Regions from separate parts of the Homo sapiens genome. Here regions 2, 3 and 4 are each linked to region 1. Evidence: promoter capture Hi-C in human tissues and cell types (Jung and others, 2019). All regions are on one chromosome and are shown on one strand. The core of a region is centred on a gene start or on the middle of the fragment in contact, and the rest is flanking DNA. Distances in the headings are between cores, read along the strand shown. Region 1 holds the start of UBE2G1 (ubiquitin conjugating enzyme E2 G1). Region 2 holds the start of SPNS2 (SPNS lysolipid transporter 2, sphingosine-1-phosphate). Region 3 overlaps ANKFY1 (ankyrin repeat and FYVE domain containing 1). Region 4 overlaps ANKFY1 (ankyrin repeat and FYVE domain containing 1).

What was found. Contacts are between HindIII fragments. The study calls those that stand out against the background at their distance.
Region 2: the fragment with the promoter of SPNS2 here is called in contact with the fragment with the promoter of UBE2G1 in region 1 in 1 of the 25 tissues and cell types used here (psoas muscle).
Region 3: a contact is called between a fragment that was not itself captured here and the fragment with the promoter of UBE2G1 in region 1, in 1 of the 25 tissues and cell types used here (H1 embryonic stem cells).
Region 4: a contact is called between a fragment that was not itself captured here and the fragment with the promoter of UBE2G1 in region 1, in 1 of the 25 tissues and cell types used here (dorsolateral prefrontal cortex).

The regions. Positions count from the first base shown.
Region 1 is chr17:4,365,373-4,368,072 of GRCh38, reverse strand. UBE2G1 (ubiquitin conjugating enzyme E2 G1) reads left to right here and starts at 1,398. Exons shown (of 6, transcript NM_003342.5): 1 at 1,398-1,802. The coding sequence starts at 1,757. RefSeq lists enhancers at 1,265-1,559, 1,379-2,065 and silencers at 1,228-1,927, 1,978-2,700. The HindIII fragment of the contact is 21,131 bases long and covers 1-2,700 here.
Region 2 is chr17:4,497,631-4,500,330 of GRCh38, reverse strand. SPNS2 (SPNS lysolipid transporter 2, sphingosine-1-phosphate) reads right to left here and starts at 1,450. Exons shown (of 13, transcript NM_001124758.3): 1 at 914-1,450. The coding sequence starts at 1,283. SPNS2-AS1 (SPNS2 antisense RNA 1) reads left to right here and starts at 1,596. Exons shown (of 3, transcript XR_001752763.2): 1 at 1,596-2,180; 2 at 2,616-2,700. RefSeq lists enhancers at 16-650, 651-1,286 and silencers at 1,328-1,377, 1,438-1,587, 1,598-1,657. The HindIII fragment of the contact is 11,191 bases long and covers 1-2,472 here.
Region 3 is chr17:4,228,661-4,231,360 of GRCh38, reverse strand. All of the region lies in intron 3 of ANKFY1 (ankyrin repeat and FYVE domain containing 1), which reads left to right. Among named protein-coding and RNA genes, the nearest start is that of ANKFY1, 34 kb to the left of the region's middle. The HindIII fragment of the contact is 6,569 bases long and covers 1-2,700 here.
Region 4 is chr17:4,210,130-4,212,829 of GRCh38, reverse strand. All of the region lies in intron 4 of ANKFY1 (ankyrin repeat and FYVE domain containing 1), which reads left to right. Among named protein-coding and RNA genes, the nearest start is that of ANKFY1, 52 kb to the left of the region's middle. The HindIII fragment of the contact is 4,377 bases long and covers 1-2,700 here.

The DNA of each region.
Region 1 (2,700 bases), core at 149-2,648:
ACATGGTAAAACCCCATCTCTACTAAAATACGAAAGAAAATTAGCCTGGCCTGGAGGCGTGCGCCTGTAGTCCCAGCTACTCAGGAGTCTGAGGCAGGAGAATTGCTTTAACTCGGGAACCTGAGAGGCAGAGGTTGCAGTGGGCCAAGATCACGCCACTGCACTCCAGCCTGGGCGACAGAACAAGGCTGTCTCAAAAAATAAATAAATAAATAAATAAAATAAAAAAGAAAGAAACTAGGAATAGAAGTAAATTTCCTTGATTTGGTAAAGTGAAATATCAAAATGGTCCCTTTGGTCTATTTGATAGGGGGCAGTGGTTCACACTTGTAATGCTAACACTTTGGGAGGCCGAGTTGGAAGGACTGCTTGAACCCAGGAGTTTGAGACCAGCCTGGGCAACACAGAGAGACCTCTGGCCCCCCCCTCCTTTTTTTTTTTTTTTGTGAGACGGAGTCTCTCTCTGTCGGCCATGCTGGAGTGCAGTGGCACCATCTCGGCTCACTGCAATCTCTGCCTCCTAGGTTCAAGCAATTCTCCTTTCTCAGCCTCCCTGGTAGCTGGGAGTACAGGCGCCTGCCACCAGGCTGGGCTAATTTTTGTATTTTTAGTAGAGACCAGGTTTCACCATGTTGGCCAGGATGGTCTCGAACTCGTGACCTCAGGTGATCTGCCCACCTCGGCCTCTCAAAGTGCTGGGATTACAAGCATGAGCCACCGCGCCCCGTCAAACCCCCCGATCTCTATAAAGCAAATAAAAAAATAGCAGGGCATGGTGGTGTGTACCTGTAATCCCAGATACTAAGGAGACTCAGATGGGAGGATCCCTTAAGCCCAGGAGTTCCAAGCTGCAGTGAGCTATGATCACTGCACTCCAGCCTGGGCGACAGAGAGAATTGCCGTCCATAAATGATAATAATAACAGGGCCGGTCTCGGTGGCTCAATAATAATAGGGCCGGACGCGGTGGCTTTTTTTGTGCACTCTTCATGTAAAGTGAGTTATCATCATATATTGCCTCTATTTTGATGTTTGGTTAAAATGGGGCACACCAGTACTAACTTCGGCTTTCTAACAATTCCTACTTCGCACACCATGTGGCAGTGTTAGATGGCTTTTGGGCGCTCGCCAAGGACTAGACATCTACCACTTCTTCTGGCCTCTTCGCTCCTATATCCACTGCTTCAATCCAGAGGCTGTATTTGACCCTCTGCGACCTCTTTGTCATGGCGTCCGCGGGGCGTCTACCAGCGGAGGCTTGGGCTGGCAGCCGGGCGTCGACCTTCCCAAAATGGCGGCGGACGGGACAACTGCGCTCAAGGGGCGGGGTTCCGCCGCCGGGGGCGGGGCGGGAGGCCGAGGGGTCGGGCTAGCGGGCGGGACGCTTCCCAAGTCGGCAGTCTCAGCGCGCCTGCGCCGAGCGGCCCTGCGCGCAGTGAGGCAGTGGCGGGGGAAGGCACCGGTGGGGCCGACGGGCGGGTTGAAGGAGGGAAGCGGGCGAGCGAAGTCCCAGTGCGCGCCGCGGCAGCCCGGGCACCCTCCCCTTCCGGGCGTGAGTCGCTGTGAAAAGAGCTGAAGCGAGCGGACTCGCACCGGCAGCGAGGCGCCGCTCCCGCCGCCTCAGCCCGGCCTTCCTCGGCTCCGGCGCTCCGGTCGCGGGGCCCGGGTTCCTCGGCACACCCCGCTCCAGCCGCCCCCAGAGCCTGTCCCCAGCCCTTCGGAAGCCCCGGCGCCAGCCCGGGCCCTCGGCAGGGAGGATGACGGAGCTGCAGTCGGCACTGCTACTGCGAAGACAGCTGGCAGGTGAGCAGGCGGGCGGCGGGGCGCCGGGCCCGGCCGCGATCGCGGACAGCCGCAGCCCAGTCCCTCTTCTCCTCCCGGGCCAGCGGCCGTACTGCCGAAGGGGCCCGGGCCTGCGAGGGTGGGGACCTCGAGGCTCCGGTCCCGGCCGGGCCCAGCCGTTCTCGCCCGGCTCTTGGAGGGCACTGGGGGCGGGGACGCGACCCAGCTCCGGCCCAGGGACTGGGCCTGGCGCCCGGGGGGTCGGAGAGGAGGAGGTCCCCTCCCCCACCGTTCTGTAGGACGTTGCGGGGGAGGGGCTGTGTGCGGGTCCCCAGGCCGGGGCCGCCAGCTTGGAGGGGCGGGTCCCGGGTTCAGGTGCTGCCGGGGCCGCCGGACCTTCGGGGCCGGCTGGAGCGTCCGGACCCAGTGCGGCTGCGAGTCCCCGGCTCGGTGTCTGAGGGCGGGCGGAAGGGACCGGCCCTGGCGGGATAGGTGAGGCGCACAAAACTTCTCCCCGGGCGGCGCTGGGTCCGCGGAGTTGGGGCCGACAACAAAAGCGCTGGCCTCGGCGGCCTCCACGCGGGCGCGAGGGTGCCGGAGACCCTGGCGGAGTGCGGATCGCCGCCTCGCCTGCCTCCGCCTGGCACGGGCTCCGGCTGCGCCGCCCGGCTGGGGGAGGGTAGGAGCGGGCCGCGGGGAGAGCCGCTCGCTGGCCGGCTCCGGGCTTTGTGCTCGCCGCGATTCCGGCTGCTGCGCAGGCCTGCAAACCCCGGAGCTGCGCCCGCAGGCTCTGGCCCGGGGCGGCGGCCGGGTCGGCCTCCCCGAGGAGCCTGCGGCCCCCCTCCCCCATTGTCCCGGCCTCCGGCCGTTTGCGGCTTCCAGGTTGACTTTTTAGGGGGTTGGCTCCTACTCTGCTAGG
Region 2 (2,700 bases), core at 201-2,700, 130 kb before region 1:
CAAAGGCCCAATGATCAATCAACTCACAAACGGGCAAACAGACCTAAACACACGCTGAGACTGGCCCAAGGTCACACACCAAGCACATTAGGAGCAAAGCTGGGGCTAGAACCCAGTTGTTCTATCGATCCCAATCCCGTCCCCAAGGCTGATTCCCAGAGATGCTCCCTGAGGATGAGGCTCCACGTCTCTAGCTCCAGAGGCCTGCGCCCTACCCTACACCCCAAGCACCATAGAGCAGGGGGAGGCGTCTCCAGGCCTCTGTACAGGGCCAGCTGCAAACCGCAGCCTGGGTCCCCAGGCGCCGCGGACCCGCCCCGCCCCTCCCTCCGCTCCCCGCAGCCCGGAGCCTTTGTCAGCCACGCGCTCACACACAACCGCGCCGCCACGCGCACACACACCCGGTCTCCCTAGCGCACACCCGCAAGGGGCGCGCGCACTCGCCGCACGCACGCAGGGGGGTGGAGGCGGCGGAGAAAGGAAGGAACTGACGGGCCATGGACGGACAGACGACCTGGGCTGGGGGAAGGGAAGGGAAGGAGGCCCGGGAACCGGCAGCTGGGGTCGGAGGGGGCGCAGAGACAAGGAGACAGAGAGACGCAGAGGAGACTCTTGGAGAGGAGGACAACGGATGGGCCGTCAAGGGCTGGAGAGGACGCGCGGGCTGCTCCAGGGGTGGGGACTCCTCTATCCCTTGGCCCCGGGTGTGTATGAGCGGGGAGCTGGATTGTACCCGTGGTGCACGGAGGCATCCCTTGCCCAGTTGTGCCTGAGCAGAGGGTCCGTAGGGACCTCACGTAGGGCCTGGAGATAGCAGGCCTGAGACCAAAAGCTCTCTGGGGTACCTCCCTCGAGGCGGGTGGTGGGATGGGGTGGGGTCTTGGTCCTCGGGCTGGGTGGGGCACTCGCTCACCTGCCACGGTGTACCTGTCCAGGTAGTTGAGCACGTTGCCCAAGCTGAGGATGGCGGCGGCTGCCCCCCGCCCGCGGCCCAAGCTGGCCGGTTTGGGCTGCTGAGCGCCGGGGCCCTTTGCAGTAGCTGCGCAGCCGGGGGTGCCGGGGGTGCCGGGGGGTCCGGTCGGGGCCCGCCTTACGCTGCCCGACAGCGTCTGCACCTCATCGCCCGCGGCCGAGACTCCAGCGCCGCCCGCGCCCCGCGCCCCGCAGCAACCGCTACCGCCAGCCCCTCGCTGCGCCCCCCGGCGCCGGCGCCGCCGCTCCGCGTCCGCCTCCTCCTCCTCCGCGCCGCCCGCCGCCGCCGAGGCGCATTCCAGGCACATCATGCCGGCCCGGATCGGGGCGGCGGGGGGCGCGGGGGGCGCGGGGCCCAGGCTGGGCCCGCTCAGCGCGTGCGTGCGCCGCGGAGCCGCCACTGCACCATCCTGGTCGGGCCCCGTCGGCTCCTGCGCTCCGGCCCCGGCTGCGGCGCTGCCACCGCTCAGCTCGCTGCGCCTCGTTCGCCGCCGCGGCTCTGACAGCTGCGGCCCGGCCCCGCCCACCAGGCCCGCGCCCAATCAGCTCCGGGCTCGGGCCACAGCCCCGCCCCGCACGTGCTGCCCTGGGGGTGGGGGGCCCGGGGACTGGGGGCCCGGGCGGCAGAGCCCCTCCTGCCAATGGGGGCGCAGTCACGCCGGGGCCGACCGGCCGCGAACGCCCGCGGGGAGCGGGAGAGGGTTTGCTCTGGCTACGGAGCTGGGAGCAGGGTGCTGGTGACGGGGCTCCCAGCACCTACTCAGTACCCTTCACCCAACCCCTGCCTCGGGCGTGGACTCCCGGCGGAGGCTCTGGGAGCCGGGCTGAGGGCTTGAGCCTAGCGTATCTGGGAGAACTGGAGAGAGGAGTCTCAGATGGCTAAAGTCAGGGGCGCCAGTTGGAGAGCCGGTGGCTCCTCCGATACTCACACGCCCGGATTTAACCAGTTCAGGGAGGGCCCAGAACCTAGACCTCCACCAGTCATGGTGGGCTGTGTCTCCCACCTCCCCAGGGCAACCCAGATCCAGCCCCCAACCTACCCCGGGCCCATTCCTGTGTGGGCACCCGGACCCTACCCTTGCCCCACAGAGTGGCCCGCAGCCCCTGGCGGGGAGAGCAAGGGCTGTGATTGGGGCCCAACAGAAACAGGATATTCAGAAGGGGCTTTCCCTCCTGAGGGACCACATCTCCAAGCTTCAGACTTCCAGGTATGTGCTAGAGAGGGTACAAAGCCCCCAGTGGCAGACAGGAGGCTGGGTCCTAGCTCAGCTCTGCCCTGGTGTGTGGCATGATCCTGAACATGACACCCACTCTCTGGGCCTCCATTTCTGTATCTGGGGGCAGATGGCAGGATGGGATTCAGTCTGGAAATCCACGGGTGGTCACCTCCCCTTGGTGGGACGGGGCGGGGGTCTGCCTCCTATGGAGAGTGGTTGGGGTGCTTCTGTGTTCCTGACATCCCATCACGGTTTCACCCCTCCTTAGAGGTGCTGTGGCTCTGTGACGATCTCCCCCTTCCCTCCCCCATTCACCTGTTTGGGGAATTAAAATCGAAATTAAAATCCTGTATAAAGTGCAGAGGACAGAATGTTAGAACTGGACAAACCCTCGGAAACCAGTTAATCATTCCCTGTGTTTCACAGACAAGTCCCAGGGCACGGACGTGACCCATTACGAACAGGCAGTGAAGCTGTGGCAGGGCTGGAGCTGCCCCAGGCTCTGGCATCA
Region 3 (2,700 bases), core at 55-2,554, 140 kb after region 1:
TTCACCACCATCCCTGGCTAATTGTTTAATAGAGATGGGCTCTTGCTGTGTTGCCAAGGCTGGTCTCAAACTCCTGGGCTCAGATGATCCTCCTGCCTTGGCTACCCAAAGTGTTGGAATTTCAGGCATGAGCCACTCTGCCTGGCTCTTGTATAGGATTTTTGCCATTAATGCATAACCTCAATCTACTCATGAGAAAACATCAGACCCAAATTGAGGGACATTTCTCAAAATAATCAGCCAGAGTGTTTCTCAAACATGTCAAGGTTATGAAAAACAAGAATGGTTTAGGAAGTATTACAGATTGGGTGAGACTAACACTGAATGCAGTGTAGAATCCTCAGTTGGATTCTGGCCATAAAAAGGGTATTACTGGTAAAATTGGCAAAATAGGGCCTATAATTAGTTAATGGTATTGGTATTGTATGTATTACGTAGTTACCTAATTTTGATCATTGTACTATGGTTATATAAGCTGTATTAATAATAGGGGAAGATGAGTAAAGGGCATATGGGGATGCTCTGCAGCTTTTCTCAAAGTATGAAAGTATCTGAAAATGTAAACAAAGTAGAAATTTGCTTTTTTATTTCTTACTAAGGTATCTTTAAATATATGAAGTGATATGTTAATTAGCTTATAACCATTTCATAGTGCATACATATATCAAAACATGTCATACATTAACTCTATATAATTTTTGTCTGTTAAACCCTAATAAAAAAGAATAAAAGATAAAAGTTTATAAAGATACTGATTGACCAAGTGGGAAGAGAAAGAATATGACTGTTAGCTCAGCAAAGCATAACAAATCTGAGTCCACAAGGAAAGTATTATATTTACTTCTTGGTGAAGTAAAGCAATTTGCTTCTAGCAAAATGATCTGTTTATGGCCTCTCTGTAGCACTTTACCAGTAGCAGCTGACACGATGAGAGGTTCCAATGGATTAGAATGGCTGTTTTGAAGCTAGAGTTTGTTGCATACTTTCTCAAGCAAAGATCTTACAGTTCCTTGGCATAAGGGCTCAGGGTATGAGTCATTCAGCTCTCCTGGAATGTGTCCTGGATAGTGTCAAGCCATTCCAAACAGCAGAAAACATCCTCCTTTATTCCTTTTCACTCTGGTTGGGAAAGCTATCCCCTGAAGCACCATCTGGAAAGCTTGCACTCTGCAGTGGAAAGGGCATAGTTTCCCAAACTGTGTACTCGGGGAGCTGTGTGCTATTTAAATTTTTAAGAGAAGCACAGCAATATTCAACATCTGTTGGCTACTGTGTGAACTACTAGGTTAAGGCTGTTCAGTTTCAGTATTAAATCATACTGTGTTCCTTCGATGACATCCACGGGAAGTTTAGAATATGCTCACAAAAAGGAGTAAAAAAGAATATGCTCACAAATTCTTTGCTATTTCTCCCTGCAAAGGTGGATTCAAATTCTCCTCTTCAGTATAGGCTGATTCACCTCTAATGAATGGAGTGTGGTAGAAGTGGCAGCATGTGACTTGAGAGATGGCTTCATCGAAGGCACTGTGGCTTCTTCCTAGCTCTCTCTTTTGGATTGCTCATTTTGGGGGAACGTTAGCGGCCATGTCATGAGGACACTCAAACAGCCTTGTGGCCTCCTGCCAGCAGCTGAGTCCCATGCCCAAAGATTCTCTCAGAGCTCAAAATAATCTATTTTATCTGCGGTTATATTCTTTACTTAATCCTCATACTGCTTTTGGGTTTTTCTCACCAATCTTTGGTTATGTTAAGTTTGTGTTTGTGTTGGCTTATTGCAGATTTGGTTTAGGTTCATTGTTCTTTTAATTTTTATTTATATTTAGCCAATTCAATAATTTCTTTTTATCTGTATTAAATCTTTCTTTGAAATTCCTTTGAATTATTTTTTCTTTTTGAGTTGAATTACTATCTTTTATCTCATTTTCTTTTTTTTTTTTGAGACAGAGCCTCACTCTGTCACCCAGGCTGGAGTGCAGTGGTGTGATCTCAGCTCACTGCAACCTCCACCTCCTGGGCTCAAGTGATTCTCCTGCTTCAGCCTCCTGAGTAGCTGGGATTACAGGTGCCCGCCACCACGCCTGGCTAATTTTTGTATTTTTAGTAGAGATGGGGTTTTGCCACGTTGGCCATGCCGGTCTTGAACTCCTGACCTCAGGTGATCCACCCACTGCGGCCCCCCAAAGTGCTGGGATCACAGGTGTGAGCCACCATGCCTGGCCTCATTTTCTAATAAGGTTAAGACTATGACTTTTTTTTATAGTATGAATCTGACTACATTGCAAATATTTTGGTAGGTACTGTTTTCATTGTGATCAATTTCTAAATAGTCTATTGTAATAATAGCAAGTTTTTACATAGCAGTTACTATGTGGTGGTGGTGTTTTGAGTGCTTTATTATGTATTAACTCCACACAGTTAGCAAGGATTGGAGCCGGGATTTGAACCCTAGGTAGTTTGGCTGCAGAATTCGTGCCATTAACCACAGTGCCGTGCTGCCTGTCAGTTTGGTTTCTTTTTCCTCCAAATTGAGGTGTAATGGAAGTACAGTAAACTGCCCACATTAAAAGTGTGCAATTGGATAAGTTTTGACATACGAATACACCTGTGAAGCCACTGCCACAATCAACATAAACATTTCTATCCTTGCTGGGTGTGGTGGCTCACGCCTGTAATTCCAGCACTTTGGGAGGCCAAGTTGGG
Region 4 (2,700 bases), core at 159-2,658, 160 kb after region 1:
CACTGCACTCCAGCCTGGCGACAAAGGTAGACTCCGTCTCAAAAAAAAAAAAAAAAAAAGTGTGTTCTGCATTCTGCCCAGGTCTTTCTCATGACCTTCCTTCTTTCTTCTGCCATCACCCATTCCCATGGTCTTTTTCTACGTCTGTTACCTAAAGCCCATCTGTTAAGATTGGGAATTATCTGCTAGCTAGTTATGGTTAACAGTACTGAAATCCACTAATGTGGATTATTAAAATTAAGTGATTTCCTTTTGTGATTTTTCCTTAGTAAAGGAATTTCAGGTTTTAGAGACGAGAACGGCTAGTAGAGGGACCTCAAACTTCCGAGCATATTTACTACATACCTCAAGCTGTGCTGAGTGTAACTAGTTCTCCTCCATCTTGACAAACACACAAGTATTCCTCAAATATCTGAAGTAGAGTAACATCTTTATTTTATAGAGGAGGAGAGAGGGGCACAGAGAGCTCAAGTAATTTGGCCCCTAAAATGTAATGGGTCTCCACTCAGGTCTTTTTTACCTCATTGTTTATCTTGCTCTGTCCACCACATTCTGCCTTTGTGGTTAGAAAAGAGTTTTGGTGGAGGCTGCTGGCAGGGAAAACAATGGTGGATGTCAGGAAATCTCGTGAAACCATACTAGTCGTCTGTGACTGCCCTTGGAGGTGAACCTGATTTGGAGGGAGCAGTGGAGGCGAGGGAGGTGAAGGGCTGTTCCCTGGCCACCTTTTCCCCATGGGCCTGGTCTCATGGGAGACTCCCTAAGGCTTCCAGGAATTCTGGCATAGAGGAAGTGTGGTCTTTCCAATGCCATATCTTCCAGACTACAATGTGGTCCTGCTTTTGCTACCAGAGACCTATTTGCCTGCCTTCAGCTCTCTCTTCTCTGATGTAGTTGATGTTTTTTGTTTGTTTGTTTGTTTGTTTTTGTTTTGTTTTTTTTTTGAGACAGAGTCTCTGTCTGTCATCTAGGCAGGCGTACAGTGGTGCGATCACGGTTCACCGCAGCCTTGAACTCCTGGGCTCTTACCGCAGCCTTGAACTCCTGGGCTCTTACTTCAGCCTCCTGAGTAGCTGGGACTACAGGCACATGCTACCATGCCTGCCTAATTTCTCAATTGTTTTGGTAGAGACAGGGTCTTGCTGTGTTGCCCAGGCTGGTCTTGAACTCGTGGCCACAAGTACTCCTCCTGCCTTGGCCTCCCAGAGTGCTGGGATTACAGGTGTGAGCCTTTGCACCTGGCCGTGTTTCCTTATTAATGATTCTGAAAGAGTCTTGTTTTTATTATTATGCGGCTTTATGAGGACATCCATTGTAGCCAGTTTTTCTCTATTTTGGTGTACTGTGGTTTTGTTGTTACAGTAGAAATCTGATTTTTTTGGTGTGGGGGGTGTACTATGATTTGGCTATTTTTTCTAATTTTTTTTTTTTTTTGAGACGAGTCTTGCTCTGTCACCCAGGCTTGAGTGCAGTGGCACCGTCTCAGCTCACTGCAACCTCTGCCTCCCGGGTTCACGTGATTCTTGTGCCTCAGCCTCCCCAGTATCTGGGACTACAGGCAGCCCAGCTAATTTGTTTTTGTATTTGTAGTAAAGACGGGGTTTCGCTATGTTGCCCAGGCTGGTCACGACCTCCTGAGCTCAGGCAATCTGCCCGCCTTGGCTTCTGAAAGAGCTAGGATTATAGGTGTGAGCCACCACACCTGGCTGATTTGGCTGTTTTTTTCAAAACATTATAGATATTTTAGGTGAGTTTTTTCTTTTTTCTTTTTTTCTTTTTATTTTTTTTGTTGTTGTTGTTGATGGAGTCTCACTCCGCTGCCCAGGCTGGAGTGCAGTGGCGTAATCTCGGCTCACTGCAATCTCCGCCTCCTGGGTTCAAGCAATTCTCCTGTCTCAGCCTCCTGAGTAGCTGGGACTACAGGCGCCTGCCACCATGCCCGGCTAATTTTTGTATTTTTAGTAGAGACAGGGTTTCACCTTGTTGGTAAGGCTGGTCTCGAGCTCCTGACCTCAGTAGATCCTAGGTGGGGCTTTTAAAATACAGCTTTATTGAGTTATAATTCACATATCATACACATTCATCTTATAGGAGAGCTTTTTTTTTTTTTTTTTTTTTTTTGCGACAGAGTTTTGCCTTTGTCGCCCAGGCCGGAGTGCAATGGCACGATCTCAGCTCACTGCAACCTCCGCCTCCTGGGTTCAAGCGATTCTCCTGCCTCAGCCTCCCGAGTAGCTTGGATTACAGGCATGCGCCACCACAGCCGGCTAATTTTGTATTTTTAGTAGAGATGGGGTTCCTCCATGTTGGTCAGGCTGGTCTCGAACTCCCGACCTCAGGTGATCCACCCACCTCGGCCTCCCAAAGCGCTGGGATTACAGGCGTGAGCCACTGCACCCAGCCGGGAGAGCTTTTAAGGAGGTGTTAATTATTGAGCATAGAGCCTCGTATTTGAAACTATTTCTAAGACACACTGTTTGCATCATGCAGTTGTGGGAACTAAAGTGGTGTTCCACACAGTTAAATTTTCTTTGAAGGACAGAGGTTGATCCATTTTGTGCTTGATTCGACAATTACCTGTCTGTGTGATCAGCGGGTGTCGTATGTGTGCTGTTAAGGCAGTTGGGGTATTATGCTTAATCAGTTTATTTGCATGTTATTTTGATTCTGACCAGAATGGAGCAATGAAATATTATAATG